Regions from separate parts of the Homo sapiens genome. Here regions 1, 2, 3, 5 and 6 are each linked to region 4. Evidence: promoter capture Hi-C in 16 types of primary human blood cells and fetal thymus (Javierre and others, 2016). All regions are on one chromosome and are shown on one strand. The core of a region is centred on a gene start or on the middle of the fragment in contact, and the rest is flanking DNA. Distances in the headings are between cores, read along the strand shown. Region 1 has its middle 6.5 kb from the start of HHAT. Region 2 has its middle 26 kb from the start of MIR205HG. Region 3 has its middle 8.7 kb from the start of MIR205HG. Region 4 holds the start of UTP25 (UTP25 small subunit processome component). Region 5 has its middle 15 kb from the start of SERTAD4-AS1. Region 6 holds the start of LOC105372898 (a long non-coding RNA gene).

Evidence for each region. Contacts are between HindIII fragments. The CHiCAGO score rates a contact against its expected background, and 5 or more counts as called.
Region 1: a fragment that was not itself captured here is called in contact with the fragment with the promoter of UTP25 in region 4 in 10 of 17 cell types (fetal thymus, total B cells, total CD8 T cells and 7 more); the score reaches 17.2 in fetal thymus.
Region 2: a contact is called between a fragment that was not itself captured here and the fragment with the promoter of UTP25 in region 4, in 1 of 17 cell types (monocytes). The highest score is 5.3, in monocytes.
Region 3: a contact is called between a fragment that was not itself captured here and the fragment with the promoter of UTP25 in region 4, in 1 of 17 cell types (monocytes). The highest score is 5.8, in monocytes.
Region 5: a fragment that was not itself captured here is called in contact with the fragment with the promoter of UTP25 in region 4 in 2 of 17 cell types (endothelial precursors and naive B cells); the score reaches 6.9 in endothelial precursors.
Region 6: a contact is called between a fragment that was not itself captured here and the fragment with the promoter of UTP25 in region 4, in 1 of 17 cell types (neutrophils). The highest score is 5.6, in neutrophils.

The regions. Positions count from the first base shown.
Region 1 is chr1:210,321,045-210,323,744 of GRCh38, reverse strand. No RefSeq gene overlaps it. Among named protein-coding and RNA genes, the nearest start is that of HHAT, 6.5 kb to the left of the region's middle. The HindIII fragment of the contact is 7,025 bases long and covers 1-2,700 here.
Region 2 is chr1:209,401,046-209,403,781 of GRCh38, reverse strand. No RefSeq gene overlaps it. Among named protein-coding and RNA genes, the nearest start is that of MIR205HG, 26 kb to the left of the region's middle. RefSeq lists enhancers at 1-73, 1-171. The HindIII fragment of the contact is 5,993 bases long and covers 1-2,736 here.
Region 3 is chr1:209,418,730-209,421,429 of GRCh38, reverse strand. No RefSeq gene overlaps it. Among named protein-coding and RNA genes, the nearest start is that of MIR205HG, 8.7 kb to the left of the region's middle. The HindIII fragment of the contact is 179 bases long and covers 1,214-1,392 here.
Region 4 is chr1:209,826,613-209,829,330 of GRCh38, reverse strand. It overlaps UTP25 (UTP25 small subunit processome component), which reads right to left and starts at 1,359. Exons shown (of 12, transcript NM_014388.7): 1 at 1,161-1,359. The coding sequence starts at 1,267. RefSeq lists an enhancer at 1,270-1,319. The HindIII fragment of the contact is 3,327 bases long and covers 1-2,440 here.
Region 5 is chr1:210,247,657-210,250,356 of GRCh38, reverse strand. No RefSeq gene overlaps it. Among named protein-coding and RNA genes, the nearest start is that of SERTAD4-AS1, 15 kb to the right of the region's middle. The HindIII fragment of the contact is 1,716 bases long and covers 457-2,172 here.
Region 6 is chr1:209,541,691-209,544,390 of GRCh38, reverse strand. It overlaps LOC105372898 (a long non-coding RNA gene), which reads left to right and starts at 1,473. Exons shown (of 7, transcript XR_922535.3): 1 at 1,473-1,545. RefSeq lists a silencer at 1,681-1,881. The HindIII fragment of the contact is 6,088 bases long and covers 1-2,700 here.

The sequences.
Region 1 (2,700 bases), core at 74-2,573, 490 kb before region 4:
AATTATAACACTGAATGTAAATGAACTAAATTCTCCAATCAAAAGATATAAGAGTGGCTGAATGGCTTTAAAAAACCAGAGGCTACACTTCTCAGCCTGTCAGATGGCCACCCTGCAGGATGTAACCCTTTATAAGAAATAAAGTCTCCTTTCTAAATGTATAAAAAATGTGTGATTTTTTAAGCCAACACGTCAGAATTTCCTTCCTTTTTAAAACTGATAATATTCCATTGTATGTATGTCACACATTTTTTCCATTTATCTATCTATGGATTCTTGAGTTGCTTTCTTCTTTTGGCTGTTGTGAATAATGCTGCCATGAACACGGATATACAAACATCTCTTTAAGACCCTGCATTCGATTCTTTTGAGTATATACCCAGAAGTGAAATTGCTGAATCATATGGTAATTCTGTTTTTAATTTTACGAAGAATTGCCATACTATTTTCCATAGAGGCTGTGCCATTTTACATTCCCATCAACAGCGCAATTTCTCCATATCCTCACCAACACTTGTTATTTTTTGATGTGTTTTTATACTAGCCATTCTAATCAGTATGAGGTAGTATCTCCTTGTAGTTTTAATTTACATTTCCCTAATGATTAGTGATGTTGATCATCTTTTCATATGCTTATTGGTCATTTACATACCTTCTCTGGAGAACTGTCTAATCAAGTCCTATGCCCATTTTTAAAATTGTATTGTTTGTTTTCTTGTTAAGTTGTAGGAGTTCTTTGTACATTCTGGATATTAATCCCTCATCAAATATATGATTTGCAAATACGTTCTCTCATCCTGTGGCTTGTCTTTTCACTCTGCTGATTGTGTCCCTTGATGCACAGACATTTTAGTTTTGGTGAAGTCTAATTTAACTATTTTTTCTTTTGTTGCTGGTTTTTTGTTTATGTTTTTATTTTGTTTTTTGAAACAGGGCCTCACTCTGTCACCAAGGCTGTAATGCAATGGCACATTCATAGCTCACTGCAGCCTCCGTCTCCAGGGCTCAAGTGATCCTTGTGCCTTAGCCTCCCAAGTAGCTGGGACTATCAGAATGTGCCACCATGCCCAGCTAATTGTTTTTATCTCTTTTTTTTTGAGACAGAGTTTCGCTCTTATTAAGCCCAGGCTGGAGTGCAATGGCACGATCTCAGCTCACCACAACCTCCGCCTCCTGGGTTCAAGCAATGCTCCTGCCTCAGCCTCTCAAGTAGCTGAGATTACAGGCACACACCACCACGCCTGGCTAATTTTTGTATTTTTAGTAGAGACGGGGTTTCACCATGTTGGTTAGGCTGGTCTCGAACTCCTGACCTCGTGATCCACCCGCCTCGGGCTCCCAAAGTGCTGGGATTACAGGCATGAGCCACCATGCCCGGCCGTTTTTATCTTTAGTAGAGAGAAGGCCTCACTATGGTGCCCAGGCTGGTCTCGAACTACTGAGCTCAAGTGATCCTCCCACCTTGGCCTCTCAAAGTGCTGAGATTACAGGCATGAGCCATCATGCCTGGCCAGTTGCTGGTATTTTTAATGTCATATCCAAGAAACCAATGTCATGAAGTTTTTTCCTATATTTTCCTCTGAAAATTTTATAATTTTAATTCTTATGATTAGGGGTTTCATCTATTTCAAGTTAATTTTTGTATTTGGTGTTAGGTAAGGGTCCAGCTTCAATCTTTTGCATATGGTGATCCAACTTTCCCAATACCACTTGTTAAAAAGCATTAACATCTTTCAAATGCCAGATATTGGAGTAAAAGGAATGGATGGTAGGAAACTAAGTTCTTTTTGGAAATGAGAAATAAGATCAATGGAGTAAACCAACGTCAAAGTCTAAACACCAGGAGAAAAGTTGGGTTGGGGAGAGTGTAGATGGGAGGAGAGGGAGAAGAGGGAGATTCTCCCCCACCTTTAATGCTTCACACACCGGCAGAAGTGTCTGAACGTTGAGGATCTCTGCTTGTCTTGGAGAAGTAAGGCCTCTGGATCTTCCCGACTTGGAGCCGGAGCAGCCAGCCCTGAGGCAAGACGTGACCGGACATGCCTTGGCTTGAAACGCTTCAGTTCTGACTACAAGCAAAGCCAAGGAGAGTCCTCCCTGGAGTTGAGAAGCAAACTAGAAATAGAGTAAATAGAGCAAAATTATGATAATTGAGGTTTAAAGGAGGGAACCAATTTGTGCCTTGGTATTGTATTTCCTTGAAAGCAAAAATACCAAAATTAGTATGTAAATGTGAGTAATTAATGGTCAGTTCCTCTCTATACTATTATTTTAATCATAAGTCATTAATCAGGCACCTGCACTGGGTGTGTTTTCTCTCTGACTCTCTCAGTTAGTGGAATCTAAGTATTCCACTGGGGCCTCCCATCCAGACAGGCAGACCTGAGTGCCTGGTAGCAACTCTCCAGACAGCAAAACTGGTGCTTAGGAAGGATTAACCAGGCCAATCCTCCTTTTAAGTTCAGCCGTGACTCAGCCATACAATTATACTCATTCAACAGAGGCATAAATGGTTGCTAAGACTTCATTGATAAAGGCTTTAAGACAAAGGAGTGAATTTCTGATTACGAAGATTCACACTCAAGGAGCAATCACGAGCTATTTTGAAGGATTCAAGGATCTACCCAACCCTGACCACCTGGCATAGGCTTTTGTCTGCTCCACCTATAAGAATGTCCACCCTGGTTTATTGTGATTTTC
Region 2 (2,736 bases), core at 98-2,597, 430 kb after region 4:
CCTGCCTCTCCCTCGAGTGTTCTGTGTTCTCTGTAGCCTTCTCAAGGGGAGACTGCTAATTCTGCTGCATCTCAGCATCAGCCGCTGGCGTTGGCACCATCCCTGCTCCCCATCTTCACTCCCCAAATGATTCAAGTGAAAGTCTTGGCCGCTTTTAGGCTCAAGCTCACTGGCATTGCCAGTGCTCTCCAAAGTGTCTCCAGTGTACTGTGACAAGGGCAGGTCTGCCTCTTAAATGAGTGACACAAGCCCTAGGGGGTTCAGTGGTGAGCTGGAGACCCCATGATGCTCAAAAAGGGCACAGTTGCTCCGCAGTTCACAGTTGAAGGAGATAAACCCTGTGTTCCCAGATCTTTTTTTTTTTTTTTTTTTTTTTTGAGACGGATTCTCACTCTGTCGCCCAGGCTGGAATGCAATGGCGTGATCTCGGCTCACTGCAACCTCCACCTCCCAGGTTCAAGCGATTCTCCTGCCTCAGCCTCCCGAGTAGCTGGGATTACAGGCATGCGCCACCATACCTGCCTAATTTTTTGCATTTTTAGTAGAGACAGAGTTTCTCCATGTTGGTCAGGCTGGTCTCGAACTCCCAACCTTAGGTGATCCTCCCGCCTTGGCCTCCCAAAGTGCTGGGATTACAGGCCTGAGCCACTGTGCCCGGCCTTTTCCCAGATCTTTATAGTTTCTAAGAGAAGGCTTTCAAGGAATCTAGATTTTTATATGAACTTTCCTGATTTTTTTTAAAAATGGTAGATAGTAAACCATCATCAAAAAAAAAAATAAGAAAAAACACCATGACAGCCAAATGAAACCTGGCTATTGGGTCTGAGTTGGCCCACAGGCCTCTGATTAGTGATTTCCACTCTGCATTTCCTCTTCCTCATCTAACACTCTCTTAGTCATTCTCCCCATTCACTAATGACACCAGCATGTGTTACACAGTCTTTTCTTCCATCTGAACCCTGCTTTCATCCTGGGCTTCTTCTGGGCTCATGAAGATGCCCAGCAACACTCGACCCCCCCATTCCTGCATCTTCTCTTCTCAACACGTCCACCCCACCTGGACCTCATCATCCCCTAGGTCACCTCCCACACCACAACCTTCTATCTTTCTACTTCTTGTACTCAATCATTGACATTATTTCTATTTCAAAACTAGGGACTCCCAGACCACTGATCTCTCTCTCTCTCTCTCTCTCTCTCTCTCTTTTCAGTCATACCTTCTCATACCATACCCTCTCAGCTTCATTTTACTTCAACCTCTGTCTTGCTAATATTGTTGCCCTATTGGCTTTCTTTCATACTTGGATGGCAAAACCTCAACCCTGGAGCTAACAAACTATTAGCCTTCTCTGCCAGTGTTGCTGCATGTCATAGAGAAACCCACACGATCTGTAGACTCATTGTACTACTGTCTCCCATTTCCCAGACCCCACTGCTCCCTGCCACTCTCCTGTGATCATTCTAGGCTTCCTTAGTCACCGCTCTCTCTAGTTCTCTAGACTAGATTTTCAGTGCCTTCTTCACTCTCCTCCACTCCTCAAATATTTGGCCTTCACAAGTTAAGCATTTGACATTGCTTCCTACTTCACAGAAAGTGTAGAACCCAGAGATGGAAACATCCCACCCCTTAACTCAGTGCCATCAAACCTACAACTTACCTACATCTGCCACCATGCCTCTTTTCTTCACTTCTGATTTTATGGAAGAGGAGCCTCTCTCTGTCTGAGCTTATCCCTTTTTTTGTCCTCTGGAGTTTTTCTCTCCTACCTCCTTAGCAGCCTGGCTTGATCACTTTTCCCTTTCTCTTCCCTGTCCCTTCACCCTGTCCCTCTCTCTTTTCCCCTCTCTCTATCAGGACCTAAACATGTTTAAGCCTTCCGTCTTGTATATTCAATTCCTTGCTGGCCCCATGGCACTTTTCAGCCACCGCTTTCTCTTTAAAAAGGCATCTGTATCTGTCGCTCAGCTTCTTTACTTCCCATTCTGTATTCTACCCACTGCAAGCTGGCTTCTGCCCTTATTGTTCTGCTGAAACTGCTCTCAGCAAGGTTGTAGATGACTACTTTATTGCTGAATCCAATGGCAACTTTTAAGTCATTATCTTCCTTGACCTCTCTGCAGCGGCTGACACTGTTGGTCCTTTCCTGCATACTGAAAAACTCTTTTCCTGGGCTTCCATCACCACGTGCAGCAGCTGGATTTCCCCACCTCTTCAGACTCCTTCATGGGCTTCTCTTTCTTTGCTCACTTTTAAATACTAATGTTGGTTCGGTCCTACTGGTCTTATTTGTCCATGCTCAGGTCTTATTCATGTGCACGCCTGAGGTTATCTCAGTATTCTGTAACTTGTGTGGGGAGATTGAGATAGACCAGGAGGGGTAGGATGCAGATTTTATGATGGGGAACAGCAGAAATGAGATTGGCCAGGCATAGTGGTACCAGATGATGAAGAGACTGAGGAGTCAGCAAGGGAGAGTTTAATTTGCTGAAAGTGACAACAGGGGGACAAGCCTTGGGTCTAGGTTGTTAGTATCTAAGATGCTGAAGCCTTCCCTCCTTTTGTATAATGAAGCATTTGTCTGGCCTTTGTCCTGCGTTCCTGGGATGGAACTTCTAAACAAACCCTCTAACTTTCCCAGGTGATAAGACTGTCTGTTATTCATAGTGAGCCCTTGGGACCATGCCTGGGTTTATGTTAGTGAGGTGACTCACAGTGAGCCCCTACATAATTTCAGG
Region 3 (2,700 bases), core at 54-2,553, 410 kb after region 4:
GACTGCAGCTAACTAATACCTGCTTGTGAGAGTCAGTTGTTAAAATTCCAGGAAACAGCTTGCCATCTGGTTGTTGAACATGTTGGTAGCTTGAAATCAGCCGTGGTGAGAAAGCTTATACTACGCTACAAAACCAGAGTGTTCCTGAGAGCCAGTTGTTAGGCATTCACCAGCACACCTGACCCAACTTTCCCCCTCCATTGGTTCTCCCTGTTGTGTGAAATGTCCAGGCTTCCCCAGGGCCAGCTGTCAGCCACTTTGCTCCTCAATAATACAGCATCCTGGGGCAGGGGCTGCTGAGGCACCGGCGGGTCTCTGATTCTGGTCCCACAACCACAACTCCAGTCTCACAGGGCTGCCTTCTGTTCCTCAGAGATGCCGTCTAGTGTTTTGTCAATCTATGTTTTGTCATACTCCTGCCTCCATCCAGAACATTCTTCTGAAATGCTACCTAATAGTAAGCCCCTGGCCCCCCTTCCTGGTCTCTGCTCACATGGCTCCATGCAGGCCTCCCGGCCCTGGTGCTGCTCTGTGTGGCAGAAAGATGGGTGCCGCTGTTTCCCTGGCTAGGCTGTGCCTGCCTTCAGAGGTGGGCTGGAGTCCACTAACCATCTCAGTGCTTCTCCTACTATTATTAGGCCAGCATTTTTCTCATATTTTGCTCCTGTAATCCTCACGGCACAGACTTTTTCAAATGAGCAAACAGAGGTTGAATAACTTGTATGAGGTAACATAACCAGTAAGTATTCGAGTCTCCATTTGAAAAAAGAGGTTTTTTGGATTCCCCAGGCTAGGGATTTTACCCCTCCCCTCCCCATTCCATTTTCAGACTCAGCCATTTCTCTCTTTCGTACAGAACCTAGCAAAACAGGCTGCACCACGGCATGGATTTAATACCGCTTAGTGAATTAACTAAAACTTCCCTTCTTTTCAGTCATGTATTTTGTAACAAAAATGAAATGGGGATTAGAGAGGAATTAGAGCATGATATTACTTCTGCAAAATCAACACTGTTCTCAGTGAAAGCCTGAGAATATTTAACCTCAGTAGGCACGATGCTAGGTGTTCTCTTCTGAGTGAAACCTTGAGTTTTTGCAAAGGCAATTGAAAAGGTTTCAGCAGAAGAATAGACATGCCCTTGGACTTTCAGCAAAAGAATATTATTTAACAAAAATTTCAGTTATAACATTGCACACATCAAACCTTTTAAGCTTTAGTAGGCTCTTCTGCTTCTTATTCCTATTATAACCAACAGAAACAATTTACAATCTCCCTCAAATTTGAGGGCCATAGGTCCATGTGAGAATGGAAAAATGGATAAGTAAGTAGGCTCTTTCACAATGAATGAGAGATATTTGTAATAGCTTTTCTTGTAATTTCTGATTTAAAGCTTAAAAAATCTGGACGCCCCCTTCCCACTCACACTCAAGAAAAAAATATTAAAAGTAGGAAATAGTAAGAATGTAGAAATGATAATTTCCTATTTCTCAACAGACCTAGTGCTTAATCCTATTTGGACTTGGAAATACGAGCCCACTCATTTTCTGGCCGGGTTTAAACAAAATAAGAGACATCTCCCTATGCCTGTCTTCTTTAAATCCATAAGTGAGCCAACGCCACTCAGCAGTGAAGGAGCTTTCAGTGGGTTGTCCTCTGATTGAAAATCAAGAGCCACATGTGTCTTCTTTCCCATGAAGGTTCCGCCAGGACAACAGTTGGTGAAATTACAGGGGTACCTCTGGCCAGCGTTTTGAAGAACTGTGGTGTTCCTATTCTTTCCCAACTAAGCTCTGATGTGTGCAGACTCCCTGTAATTATGGTATAATTGGATTTAACTATAGGGGTAGAACTAGTTTTCAACCAAGTCCCCTCAAATAATTTGTTGCTTATTAGAAAAAAAGAGAACTTCTGCTGGCTTTAGTGGAGTGTATGTTTGCCCCCCTCCACCTCACTCCATAAGAGAGAAGAGAATTGCTGGTGTGAGCTCTAGCAATTTAGTGGGGTTGGTTTAATCACAGTGCCCTAGCTCTGAATATTCCAGAAAGTTCATTTTCTCTAAAAAGGAAATCCAGAGAGAAGGTGGTACAGAGTCCCAAAGTGAAATGTCTCGGTCTCTCCCATTCCTATGGTTAGGAGATTATTCTGAGTGTCCAGAGTTTGCAAACTGTGTGCTTGAATCTGGGCATGGGCTTATACTATTTGGCCTGCATGATGTTTAGAGTTTTTGTGACTTAGGTGCCACAGATAAGAACTGGGAGATTTCACATAAAAATCTGGATTTCAGCCTCCCTTCAAAAACGAAAAAGGAAAAAAAAATCTGGCCATCCAGGGCCTGAATTCCTTCATTACTACACTTGCTGGACTTGAATCTCTGTGATACTTTAGAGGGGGCAACTAATTCACAATTTACTTTCCAGTGCTCATCACTCGTTTACTGAAACTTCTTGACTCTGCTGGCATTTGAATTTGTATCTTTGTCTCTCTCTCTCTCTCTCTCTCAATCCCCACCCCGCCCCCGCTCCACCTCTCAGCAATATGAACTCATTTTTTATTGAAGGCAGGGTGATGTAGCACAAAAAGTTAGTCCTTTTGTGTTGAAGAAACATATTTAAACCCTGGCTCCATTGTCCACCAGCTGTGTGACTTTGGATGAGCAACTTAACGTTTTAGATCACTGTCTCCACATCTGGGGCTTACATG
Region 4 (2,718 bases), core at 110-2,609:
TCCCAACAAATTCTTTAAAAACACACACAACATATGATGTGACTATAACTAACAATTTATTGTATATTTTCAAATGGCTAGAAGAGCGGATTTTCAATGTTCCCAACGCAAAGAATTGATGTTTGAGATGATGAATATGCTAATTACCCGGATTTGATCATTACACATTGGGTACATGTATTGTTATCAAAATATCACACTGTATCCCACAAATATGTACAATCATTTTATGTAAGTTAAAAATAATTATAAAAACAGGCCAAGCGCGGTGGTTCACGCCTGTAATTCCAGCACTTTGGGAGGCCAAGGCGGGCAGATCACCCGAGGTCAGTAGTTCGAGACCACCCTAGCTAACATGGTGAAACCCCGTCTCAACTAAAAATACAAAAAATTGATCGGGTGTGATGGCGGGCGCCTGTAATCCCAGCTACACGGGAAGCTGAGGCAGGAGAATCGCTTAAGCCCGGGAGACGGAGGTTGCAGTGAGCTGAGATCGCGCCACTGCACTCCAGCCTGGGCGACAAAGCGAGACTCTGTCTTAAAAAAAAAAAATTATATATATACATATATATATGTGTGTCTACAAAAAATTCCTAGATCTCTGACCACACAAAAATCCGCCCCCATAGCTGGGCGCGGTGGCTCACGCCTGTAATCCCAGCACTTTGGGAGGCCGAGGTGGGTGGATCACCTGAGGTCAGGAGTTCAAGACCAGCCTGGCCAACATGGTGAAACCCCATCTCTACTAAAAATACAAAAAATCAGCCGGGCTTGGTGGCGGGCGCCTGTAATCCCAGCTACACGGGAGGCTGAGGCAGGAGCATCGCTTGAACCCGGGAGGAGACAGAGGTTGCAGTGAGCCAAGATCGCGCCATTGCACTCCAGCCTGGGCGACAGAGCGAAACACCGTCTTAAAAAAAAAAAAAAAATCCTCCCCCACACAACGGGCGTGCCTCTTAGCAGGAAATTACAGGCTCAACAAAAAGGCCCGTGAAGCACTCCATCTCCCGGCGGGATGGCGCCAGAATCTCCCCGGCCGAGCACAGCGGGAGCCAGGGAATAGTGGGAAAAGGCCGGAGCAGCACTATCTGGGAGACCAGAGGACCAAACTCGAGGATACATCTCTGGCGACTGGGGAGCCCTGCCACGCCCCTTCAGACCTGTCATAGAAGGGATGCTCCTCGCCGAAATCTCGAAGATGTTTCTTCTGCTTTTTAGTTAGGGTGTTGAGTAGCTGGCTCTGGCTCCGGCTCCCGCGTTTGCCCATAGCGAAAACGTCAAGTTTGCCCACTTGCAAGAGTCGCGGTTTTCCACCAGGAAGTTGTCCAGTCAACACAAGCACGTGGGCTCGCTGACTGCGCTTTACGGCGAAAGCAAGGTGCCATAAAGCAGATCCGCTTTACGTCGCGCTCGTACGACAGGCTTAGAACATCCGGTTCCCGGTTCTGCCCCCTACCGCAGCTCTTTGAAAGCACGGGAGTTCGTTCACTAGTGTTCTCAGAGCCCTAGAACGTGGGCAGCTGGGCTTCCCGGGTTGCGTGAGTCGGGGGCATGAGCTTTGTGCTTGTGTTTTGGTTATGGAAATCAGTCTGCGTAAATGTGTAGTAGCGGAGATAGTCGAATGCAGTGACTTTACAGTATACTGCAATAAAAATATCAACCAACATTTAAGGGTGCCTGAACATCTCACTTCATCACCACAACAGTGTACAGATAGGTCTTGTTAATAAGCCTGGTGTTGCAGATAAGGAAACTGATGCTTAGAAAAGATAACACGCTAGCGGCCGGGCGCGGTGGCTCACGCCTGTAATCTCAACACTTTGGGAGGCCGAGATGGGCGGATCACCTGAGGTCAGGAGTTCGAGACCAGCATGGCCAAACATGGTGAAACCCCGTCTCTACTAAAAGTACAAAAATCAGCCGGGCGTGGTAGCGGGCGCCTGTAATCCCAGCTACTCAGGAGGTGAGGCAGGAGAATCGCTGGAACCCGGGAGGTGGAGGTTGCAATGAGCCGAGATCACTCCACTGCACTCCAGCCTACTCCAGCCTGGGCGACAAAAGCTAGACTCCATCTCGAAAAAAAAAAAAAAGAAGAAAAGAAAAGAAAAGATAACACGCTAGCAAGAGAAGAGAGAAAAACCTTAACTGATGCAACCACATGCTTTTACCCATTAGGGTCTGCCGCCTGTGTGTGTTATATCAATCATGGGGCCCACAAGTCTGAGATTCCCACCCTCACCCTATTCTCGCATTTTCTGAAAGTATTGGAAGAGTCCCCGCAAACAAATCTGTTCCAGCATTCCCCATTTAACAACAGCAGAAACACATCTAGAGAGGTAAAGTGACTTTACTGAAATCACCCCAGTCAATGCTAGAAAAGGCTGTGAAACCCAATCCAGTGTCTCATAACTGAACTCGGACAAAAGGGGATGGAAAAGCTTTTGAAGGTAAAGGAACCATCTTACATTTTGATCATGCTAGTAGTTACACCTTGTATACATAAGAAAAGTTAAACTGTACAGTTAAAATGGGTGAATTTTAATGTATTTAAATAACACCTAAATAAACAGGAAAAAGCAAAAATATAAAAGTAGACTCAGTATTCTAGGGATTTGCAAGTGTGCAGGGCTGCTTGAGACCACAGGATAAAGATGGTGAGATCCTTTTCCTAATAGTAACTTATGCTACCATGTTCTATAGAAACAGAGTGCTTAAATC
Region 5 (2,700 bases), core at 65-2,564, 420 kb before region 4:
TCTGTTTCCTAACTCCTAATCTAGTTCTCACCACTAAGTTGGTTATAATCTTGTGGTTAAGAAACAGCAGTCATTTGACCAGAAATCAATACAATAGATTGACTCTAAGCAAATAAATGAAGAGTTATGATTTGTTCTTTTTCTTCTTCTTTCTTTCTTTTTGCTTTCTTCTTCTTTTATTTATTTATTTATTTTTTGGACAGATTCTTGCTCTTTGCTCTGTCACCCAGGCTATAGTGCAGTGGCGCAATCTCAGCTCACTGCAACCTCTGCTTCTGGGGTTCAAGCGATTCTCATGCCTCAGCCTCCAGAGTGGTGGGGACTGCAGGCTCACTGCAACCCCCACCTCCCGGTTTCAAGCGATCCTCCTGCCTCGGCCTCCCAAAGTGCTGGGATTAAGGTGTGCACCATCGTGCCTGGCCTAAACAGGACATTTTTAAAAGATTGAGGTAAGCTTTGTTGGATCTATAATAAGAACAAGTGTTAGAAATCAATTAATTCGTACAAATTCCATCCCAGGATTCTTCCTAGTATGTATTTCTTTATTCATCACTTAAAACACCCAGATAAATGGCCCCAGAATTTCTTTAAGAGTTCTTTCTGTGCAGGGACCAATACCATCTCTAGATAGAGATGTCCCTTGTGCATTAAGTCATCTTGCCTAAAACCAGCTAGGTCAAGATTGGGCTGGTTGAGAATTCTAATTGATCATCTTAACTGGTTAAAATTCTACTGATTGGGAAATAAAAATATCTACTCCAGCTGCTGGTTTTCCAAACTCTGAGAGGACAAAGGTTTAGAGATGGCCAGCCTAGACCTCCCTGGGCAGGCTGAGGTGTCCTGGCTTCCCACTGCCTCTCTCAGCTGGCTCAAATGGCAACTAATGTTGCCAATCATGAGATCCTAGCCCAGTCAGATAGGAGGGGAGCCTCTTGCAGAGAAGTCCTGGGACCCCCATGGTACAACACTGCATTTGCTCTCATTATACTCTGTTGCCCATTTCTCATTCTCAAGCCATATGGTTCAGTTTTGTTCTCATTTCAGGACCTACCCATCAGCAAGCCTGCTACAAATGAACCTCACCTTAGGGAAAAATATATACTCTTCAAAAATAGAGAGACAGAATGTAATTTTGTAAATGGAATTCTATTTTGAAATTATCAGTGGGTTTCTGAGTTTACTGGCAAAACAGAAGGGATAAGAATTTGAAATAGGGATAACCAACCTCTAGTTGACCTTATACATGGAAACTGTATCCCAGTTATTTTATAATAGGCTGTGTCCTTGGTTGTGGTTATCCAGACAATTCTGCTTTGGCCTCCAAAATTATCAGGTAGAGGAGCACAAGGAATAGCGTTTAGTCTAAATTATCTCCCCTGCCCCCCTCCTGCCTTTTTTTTTTTTTTTTTTTTTTTGGAGACAGAGTCTCACTTCCTCATCCAGGCTGTATGCAGTGGATCCATCTAGGCTCACTGCAACCTCTGCCTCTGAGGTTCAAGCAATTCTCCTACCTTGGCCTCCCGAGTAGCTGGGATTAAAGGCGCCCCCCACCACACAGGCCCGGCTAACTTTTGTATTTTTAGTAGACACGGGGTTTCACCATGTTGACCAGGCTGGTCTTGAACTCTTAACCTCAAGTGATCCATCCGCCTTGGCCTCCCAAAGTGCTGGGATTACCAGCAGGCATGAGCTGCCGCGCCTGCCCCCCCTTTTTTTCCTAACTTAATACTGTACTTTTTCTGAGTAAAAGCTAGGTTTAAGAAAATTATTTGATACAACAACTAAATAAACTTGAACTTTGGCAAATCCTAGAGATGAGTCAGAGGTTAGTGGTTTTTAATCTTTCCATTTGTAAGGGACACCTCTTATTCCCTTCACATAGCCAATGTTCTGAAAGATTCTGTCTGACAAACAAATTGTATTTATTAAGGATAATGCCTTCGTTTTCCCAGTCAGAGTTTCTTCTCAGTTTGTGACAGCCTGGAGCTGATTTAATTCCAGCCAAAGGTAAGGAAATCTGATGTGGGGTTAGCCTGTGCAACCACTTTCAGAAGATTTTATGATTTGGTATTTTAAATACTAAACATATCTCAAGGTCACCAATGACGACTTTCATAGCTAAGGGCCCTGGGACCCCAGGTTTCATACCATCCCCCTGTTTAACTTCAAGCTTGCTGTACAGAACCAAAGAGGCTGAATACTTTCCACCAAAAGGAGGATCTGGCACGGTTGGGTTCCACTTGCCGGGCATTCAAGGACAGTAATGGAGAAGTCATGGAGGCTTGTTCACTGCAAACCCATAATGTACACCCAGGCAATGTTGAGTCACTTCCCTGATATTAAAACCTTTAATCCTGACAACCTGATGAGGTGGATAATGTGTGCTGCTCCATTTTACAGATGAGTAAACTGAGGCACTAGGAGGTAAAGTGGCTTGTTGGCCAAGGCCAAGCTTGCACAGCTACCCTGGCAGAGCTGAGATTTTCATCCAGGCAGTCTAACTCCAAACCCCCTACTCTTAACCCTCTTCTATACTCCAGTCTTGTGAGAAACCCACAACCTCTGTGCCTAAACTGAACAGGAGAGAGATTCCTTGGGCTAATGACCATAACTGTTCACAAATACAGTTTGGTGGGTTTATTGAAAAGCACAGCATCTAAGGACATGGAGAACAAGGAGAACCCCTCCCAGCTCCAGAAA
Region 6 (2,700 bases), core at 136-2,635, 280 kb after region 4:
TAAGGGTTCAGAGCAGAGTCAAGTTGAGGTAAGAAAAGACAAGGGAAATGTTTGTTTGTCCTCGGCCCATTGTGGACCTTTGGCCTGCTCTGAACAATTGGCTTCCTGTGCTGGACAAAGGGGTGTAGGCAGGCCGCCCTAGTACCCTTTGTTCTGGACACATTGTAGGGATGTAGCTCAGCAGCAGAAGCTCTCCAATCCATCTCCTTCATTTGAAACATGTACTAATTTTTTAAAGTATTGATTTTCACTTTGGAAAAATTAAAGAATTGAAAACACAAATAATTCATAACGTTAGCAGCCAGTAACACAGTGCCCATCCTTAGTTCTCTCTCTCTCTACACACACACACACACACACACACACACACACACACACACACAGGCATGCAGGCACACACAGAAGATTAGATTAGGCTATTTTTCTCACTTGGCAATATATTTGAACATCTCTTCTTGTCGATAAATATGAATCGATATCATCAATTTTAATGGCTTCATAGTAATTTTATTGTGTGAACATAACATAAATTATTTAACAATTCCTATTGTTTGAACTTTAAATTTCTTTCCCTTTTTAAGTTTGCTATAAGTAATGCTTTGATGGAAATAGTATTATGCATAGATATTTGCACCTTACCTTATTATTTCCTAGAATATAATGATTTTACAGCTTTTGATATATATTACCATATTATTCTCTAGAATTTGTTGTTCTCGCCTATTCCCAAAAGCAGTGAATAGATGTCCATTTCCCACCCCCCATGCTGACACCAGGCATTATAATTCTTTTTAATCTTAGCCATCTGAAAAGTAAAAAGGACATATCATTGTTTTAAGTCATATTTCTTTCCACCGAGGCTGAAAATGGTTTACATTTTTTATTGTCATTTACATTTCTTCTTTCATGATTTGCTTTTACATATCATTCTGCTATTTTACCCCCCATGGTGCATATATTAGTTTCCTAGGGCTGCCATAACAAATTACTACAAACTTGGTGGCTTAAAGCAACAGAAATATATTCTTTCATAGTTCTAGACGCTAGATATCTGAAATCAAGGTGTTGGTAGGGCTACGTTCCCTCTGAAGACTCTTAAGAAAGAATTCTTCCTTGCCTCTTTCTAGCTTCTGGGGTTTGCTGGCATTCTTTGGTATTCCTTGGCTTACAGCTGCATTACTCAATTTCTGTCGCCTTCAGACAACTGTCTTCTCTCCATGCTTATCTGTGTGTCTCTAAATCTTCATCTCCTTATAAGGACACCAATTATTGGATTTAGGGCATACTCTAATGCAGTATTTCATCTTAAATTGACTGCATCTGCAAAGACCCTACTTCCAAATCAGGTTGTGTTCATTGGCCCTAGGGCATTAGGACTTGAACATATATTTTTAGGGGACACAATTCAGTCCCCTACAATGTGCTTGACTTTTTCTTATTAATTTGTAATAGCTTTATGCTTCACCTTTTAGATCCACTGACTCACACCTGCCTCTCTGCTTGTCCAGAGAGGTACAGAGAAGTAATGACTTGGACTTGAGGAAGGTAGGTTCTTTTGGTTAACCACAGTGTGAGTCATGAGTATTGTGGGTCTTAGGAGTTCCTGCATTAACCCTTTATTTCTGGAGAAGATAAGTGGTGGTGGGAGGGAGAGAGGAGGGCATTGTTTCTGGTGCTCTATGAGTGGCTGTTGGCAGATCTACCACTAACAGGTCAGTTTGGTAGGTGGACAATGATTGGGATAGGAGAGAGACTGAGCCAGCAGTGATAGTCTCTGAATCATAAATTGGTAAATGAATGACCCCTGAGGCTGGGTAGGAGTCATCCAGCTCTATCAGGACTTTCTGGGTTTATTTGAGATTGTTTTGCTAATAGTGGTTTCTTAAAAGCATCATGCATTTTCTTTCCTGCTTCTTAAGCACTCAGACATTTCAATGGCAGCTTAGCCCTGAACTTACAGGTTTCTTGCACTTGAATGGATCATGTTCATAGTAAGAAGCAGAATGATTGGAAGCTAAGAAGACTCTCTGCTGTCCTTGACCTCTGCAAGTTGCTTTCTGAGATGGGTAGCAGAATAAAGAAGAATTGGCTCAAATTTCCAGTTTGGTTAAGCTGAAGCAGTAGTCTAGTGGGGAGTTTCATTAGGGGCCCAGATCCAGATCCTTCTCTTCAGCACCGTTGCCTCTGAAGAACAGCTCTGCAGAGTGAAGAGCAATATGGGGTTCCTGAGAGTTCTAGGGTCTCTATAAGTGGGAAAGGCCTTGTTCCAAGGTGACAAGGGGCCAGTGTGTCAGGTAGTCTGCTCTCTAGTGGGCCTGGGGCAAGAACAAGTGTGGGCAGCTCAACCTGTATCTTTCACTTGGGTGGCAAGTGGCATCAGGGCTGGAGGAGAGAGTTGGGATGGAGGATGGTGTCCCATGTCTACCACTGCCAGCTCCTGCTCAGAAAAGAATGTCAGCATCAGATTCAAGTGACTTCCTGAAGCTGAAAGCCTACTATGACAAAAGCGTTGGAATAGAAAACTCCTAAATTTAGGAGAAAATATAGGCCTGGATTTGAACCCCAGTTCTGCAATTTACTAGCTGAGTATCATGAGTTAATTTTCTTAATCTCTTTACATTTCAATTCTGTTTTGTAAAAGTAAGACAGTATTTTGGTAAACTGTTTATAGAATAAAATTAAGTAATGTATGAGGAAAAA